Linked DNA regions of Homo sapiens: region 1 is linked to region 2. The links are contacts of gene promoters, found by promoter capture Hi-C in human tissues and cell types (Jung and others, 2019). All regions are on one chromosome and are shown on one strand. Each heading gives the region's core, a stretch centred on a gene start or on the middle of the fragment in contact. The rest is flanking DNA. Distances are from core to core; before and after follow the strand shown. Region 1 has its middle 63 kb from the start of RFC3. Region 2 holds the start of NBEA (neurobeachin).

Evidence for each region. The method cuts DNA at HindIII sites, captures the fragments that hold promoters and counts their contacts. A contact is called where the count stands out against the background at its distance.
Region 1: a fragment that was not itself captured here is called in contact with the fragment with the promoter of NBEA in region 2 in 1 of the 25 tissues and cell types used here (dorsolateral prefrontal cortex).

The regions. Positions count from the first base shown.
Region 1 is chr13:33,753,623-33,756,424 of GRCh38, reverse strand. No RefSeq gene overlaps it. Among named protein-coding and RNA genes, the nearest start is that of RFC3, 63 kb to the left of the region's middle. The HindIII fragment of the contact is 6,252 bases long and covers 1-2,802 here.
Region 2 is chr13:34,940,824-34,943,611 of GRCh38, reverse strand. NBEA (neurobeachin) reads right to left here and starts at 1,342. Exons shown (of 59, transcript NM_001385012.1): 1 at 498-1,342. The coding sequence starts at 791. LOC124903231 (a long non-coding RNA gene) reads left to right here and starts at 1,422. Exons shown (of 2, transcript XR_007063908.1): 1 at 1,422-1,472; 2 at 1,910-2,291. RefSeq lists silencers at 851-970, 1,411-1,480 and an enhancer at 1,651-1,760. The HindIII fragment of the contact is 6,257 bases long and covers 1-2,788 here.

The DNA of each region.
Region 1 (2,802 bases), core at 287-2,786, 1.2 Mb after region 2:
ATTCAGTTTAGTTCAACCAAGGTTTTTAGTTTCTACTCTGTGCAAGATTTTATGATGTGTGCTAAGAAAACATGATGAACTAGACATACTTCTTATTCTCAAATATTAGGTGTGCAAGTAAGTAATTGTAATATAGCATGAGAAGGGTAGTTATATATATATATGCACATATATTATATATACATACATATTTTATATATATATACATACACATATGTAAAATATCCAGTTATCATAAAGGAGGGAAGATCAAGCCTACTAAGACAAGTTCTGGAAGTTTTCCTGACAGAAATGACATCTTAGCTGAAGCTTCAGTGATGAATAGTTGGTGATTAATGAGCAAATCATGGGGAAGGAGAAGATAATTATCCTAGGAAGATAGCACAGCATCACAAGAACAAGCACAGAGACATGGAACATCATGGATGGAAATAGATGTGCCAGGGGAATGTGTTGAAACATGTGGTTAGGGAGGCAGGCAGGTTGCAGATTACGTAGGGCCCACCCAGCATGACATTCTGAGGAGCTAGCACTCAATTCCACAGCCAAGAGTTCTAAGCCTAAAGTCAACACAATTATATTTGTGTTTTTAGAAGCCCACCAATGTGGCAGGAGGATGATCAGAGAATGAGAATTGTCCTGACACTTATTTTGCAAATGATAAGGCAGGAACTTTTAAATAATGCCAGACAGTGCCACAAGAAATTCAGAGAAAGAGGTAGACGTAAGAAAGAGTCATGAAGCAAATCCACAGAACTTGGAGGTGAGTAGTGATGGGGTGGTGATGAGTATTACACCAGGCTATTAGCATCTCATTAACACTTCTTAGATCCCCTAGACAAGTTCTTCTGCACTTCAGCATCTCAAAATCACCTGAGGAGCTGTTTAAAACCCTCAAGCCCAGATGCATGAAGTCAAAAATCTCTGGAAGTGGGAGGCCATGTCATTATGATTCCAATGTGCAGTGAAGGCTGAGAAGTACTGGTGTAGATGAAGACTCTTCCTCTAAGTTATTTGGGAAGAAAACGAGAGCTTAAATGACCCATCCAAAGTCACAGATAATGGGAAATAAAATCCAGGCCTCCCATTTCCCAGCCCAGTGGTCTGACCACCAGATTGAATTACACCTAAGAACATCAGCAGATCGTTAACCAGCACTGACAAACCAGGTCCACGGCATTTATTCATTCACACTCCTGTGTGCCCAATGCTAGCAGAAACTGACCATACTAAGAAACAGCAGATATTTTACTTCTTGAGATGATGATGTTGGTGATGATGACAAATTGCTTAGAAAAACATAATACTCCTAAACGTAAAGCCAAAGAATATACAATGCAAGCTATAATTAATGCTAGAAGCACTTGCTGAAAGAGCTACAAGGAGTTCAGAAAAAACGAGAGTTAACTCTGGAAAAGATCATTCAAGGAGGAGACAAGACTCAGCAGAATGTAAACTTGACATTATGAGTATTTCAAAAGGCAATGAATGACATTTCATAATCTTTCACTAGCAATCCAATTAATTCTGACAGGTATGCACATAAGTTACTTAGTATTGCTTTTGCTAGGGAAGATTTAGTAGATTCAGGGGGCGCTTACTGCCCTTGCACAACTTTTAGTCATAAATCAAAATGTAGATACAGTCATTTTATTAACAGAAGGATTGGGTCAATTGGAGAAAAAATCCAATTAACAGTGAAGGAAGATGAATTATTATTAACAAGTTCATGCAGTTGTGAAGAATACCTTCAAAGTGTTTCTTCACACAGAGTAGATAATCTGTTTAACTGGCATAGTGATAATATTCACTGTGCCTACATGTAAATATCATGAAAGTACAAATTTAATACTCAAGAGTTTATCTGGAGAATCTAAAAAGACCAATTTCCTATAATATTACAATAATTCATCATCCCATAACCATCAGTCCTTCATCCCTCTCTCCTTTGTATGTACATTGAACATAGTTTCATCTTTCCTGTGATATCCTCATCCTTTGAGTTTTAGATGTCAAGGTACAATCTACTGCCTTGTCCACTCCCACAAATACCCACTCCTGTTGGGAGAATCCATGGTGAGTGGTGAAGAGCATGGACACTGGCCTCAGACTACCTGGGTTCAAATCCTGGCTCTATCATTTACTAGCTAGATGATTTTGAGTAATTTATTCAAAATTATTCAACCTCTGTGTGTTTCAGTTTCTTCATCCTTAAAATGAGAATAATAGTATCTACCTCAAAAGGTTGTGGTGAAGATACTTCAATCAGTTAAGACTTGCAAAGTGCTTATAACAATGCCTGAATACAATATGTACTCAATAAATATTGGTTATTATTAGAGTGTCCTGTGCTAGCAAGTGTTCAGTCAATATTGCATGGAACGGTTGTTAAGAGACTGATGACATAGAAATAACGCGAAAGATAAAAGCATAACAACATACACTACAACCAACAAGTCTTGGTCTTGACCAGGCACAGTGGCTCATGCCTGTAATCCCAGCACTTTGGGAGGCCAAGGAGGGTGGATCACCTGAGGTCAGGAGTTCAAGACTAGCTTGGCCAACATGACGCAAACACTAAAAGTACAAAAATTAGCCAGGCGTGGTGGCGTGCACCTGTAATCCCAGCTACTCAGGAGGCTGAGGCAGGAGAATTGCTTGAACCGGGGAGGCTGAGGTTGCAGTGAGCTGAGATCGTGCCACTGCACTCCAGCCTGGGTGACAGAGTGAGACTCTATCTCAAAAAACAAAAAGTCTTAGTCTTTTTCCTGATGAATTTCATACTTGGAGTAAAATTCTAGA
Region 2 (2,788 bases), core at 93-2,592:
TCCTTCGAAAACATCACACCCCAGCTGCTCAAGTTGGAAGCTAATGCGCTTCTCACATTTCAGCAGCACGGGGGAATTTAGGCTCCAGGGGCAAGGCTGTCATCCTCGGAGAGCGACACCAAGGACAATTAAGTGTGAGAAAAAGAACCCCAGAGAACAGGAGGCCTCCTCACCTCCTAACTAAACTCTAAAGTCGACCCAAAACCTTCACCGCGGGTACTGGGTTACTCGCGGTCCTAAAAAGTGAGAAGAAGCGGTGTTAAGTTGGGCACTGCGCTCAGGTGGCAGGAGAGGACCAGAAAGAGGAGAGGAGGGAGGTGGCGTGGCTCTAGCAGCGCGCAGGCAGGTCACCCGCTGGGCAATACCGGCTGAACGCTCTGCGCTCCCAGGGACGCGCGGCGCGTGTGACCCTGGGGGTGAAGGGTGGGAGGGAAAGGCGCTGGGGACGGTGTATGTGGGGACTGGGGAAGCAGATTGAGAGCACGCCTTTTCCTTACCAGGTTGAGCACCGTCTCCACGATGTCCCTGTTGCTGACCTCTCCGACCTGTATGAGTCCAATCAACACTGCGAATTTCATCCGGATGTTGCGGATCGGCACCGAAGGGTTAATCATCCCCGCGGGGAGCATCACCGAGCCGGAGCCGGACGCCCCCCTTAGCTCCCCCATCCCGCTGCCCCCGGTGCCGCCACCACCGCTGCCCCCGCCGCCTCCGCCAGCGGCCCCGACGGCAATGAGCCCCACGGGCTGAGGCTCGAGCCCCGGGCCCGGGCCCGGCTTCTCGCTAGCCATTGGCCCCCCTCCTGAGGAGAAGGGAAGAGCAGCGGCGCTGCCGCCGCCGGTACCGTTATACCTGCCTCGGCCCCCGCCCCCCGGCCGTCGCCTCGGAGCCCCAGCATCCACCAGCGCCGCGGCGCCGGGCCCGCTCCCCGCCTGCGCCTCAGCCCGGCCCGCTCCGGCGCTCTCCCCCGCGGAGGCGGCGGGGGATCCGCAGGCTTATTCTCGGCGGTGGCGGTACCGCTAACCGCTGCCGGGCAAGCGGCTGTGCCCGCCCAGCAGGTGTGCCGCTGCCGCTGCCGCTGCCGCCGCCGCTGCCTCTGCTCTCTCCCTCTCCCGGTCTGTCCGGCCCGGCCCGCCCCCCGCGGAGATGCTGCAGCCGCTCCGAGAAGCCCGAGGACGCGAGCAGCTGGCCACGACGCTGGCCGGTGCTGAAGCTCAGGCTGTGGCCGATGCTATTGACGCTGCTGCCGCCGCTGCTACGGCCACCACTGTTGTTGTGAAGCCCCGACGCCGCCGCTCACTCCGCCATGTTGCCGCCCCCTGCCTGCGGTAGCAGCCACTGCGCCTGCGCACAGCCTCCGGGGGGGCGGAGCCCTCGGTGCACCCCCTCTTTTGCCCTGCCCTCCTTCTCTTCCCACCCACCCACCCCGACACCCCTCGTCCCTCCCCCAACCACCCCGAACGGATAGACAGGTGAGCAGGTGCATGGGGACTGCTGCCAGACACTGGGGCAAGCTGGCAGAGGCGGGGCGGGTAGTGGCTTCCTTGTGGTTTTTCCCTTGAGGGCGGATTCTCCCTTTGGGGAAGGACACAGTGTGCATGTCTTGCCTTCGCTGCCACCTCCTCCTTCTCTCAATATCCTCTTGCTGGGAGGAGGTTCCTCATCTCAGTTGTTGCATCCAGCTGCTGCTACTGCCAGTGCCACGTGCCTTGTAAGGTAGGGGAGTGGCAGACGACCTCTTTCTGCCCCTCCTCGCCCTTCCTCGCAGTCCTGTCCGCCTGCCCTCCCTAGAATTTCCCAAAGAAAAAGTGGCTGGCAAAGCAGAAACAAACGCGCGGGGGGGCGGGGGGGCGATCCTGCATTGTCGGGGGAAGAATACAGACGGAGTGTAATGGTGCTTTTTCTACAGCCATGAAAGAGGCTGACACCTGCACACTCAGGCACGACTTAAAATAGAACTTGTCAAACAGTGATCCTCTCTGGATCAAGCTCGGAACAACAAACAGCTCTTGAACTCGCCTCCCAGCCTAAAAAGACTGCAGTGTGTGACACTGTGGGGTAGTTTGGTGGGAACGACAAATCCCACACTTTCAAAATCCTGACAATCCTCAGGTATGATGCCAATTATTAATGTTTCCTTTTTTCACAGGCACGTACAATTCAGAGGACTTTCGAAATTATCTAAAAACATGGGTGATTCTCACTGCCAGCCTTGTCTGTGAGAAAAGTACATATCTATGTCTGCACAGATACGAGACAAAAAATAAACCTTTAATTTTTAAAAATTAAAATGTACACAGTAATCTTGCTGTTAGTATTGAATTAAAACTAAATAGGCATGACTGTTCCTTGAAAGGAATGATATAATTTTCTTTAATATTTCATGAGGTCTTCCCTTTTCAATAAAGATTATTGCAAGTCACCAGAAATATTAGGTATCTTGAGGTATATTCAGATCGTTTTAATTGTCCTCTCAAATGAAAAAGGTCAATATACAAATCCACCATAATCAGTTTTGTTATTATTCATATTTAATTGGACCTGCCAGTCAAGTTAACTCCCAGGATATGGGAACACGGTAAAATTCTAAGTACCACAGGTTATAAAAAAGTTCCTCAAAACCAGTACTTAGGATGAATTCTTGGTTGCATGTCTGTTTGTTTAAACTTGCACCAAAGTGATTGAATTGTTAAAGTAGTTAAGCAAACACTTCTGAAAGCAGTGGTAACTAGCATGTCCATTTAAATTAAATGGCAATTGAATTATAAAATGCTAGAATGCTTGAAAC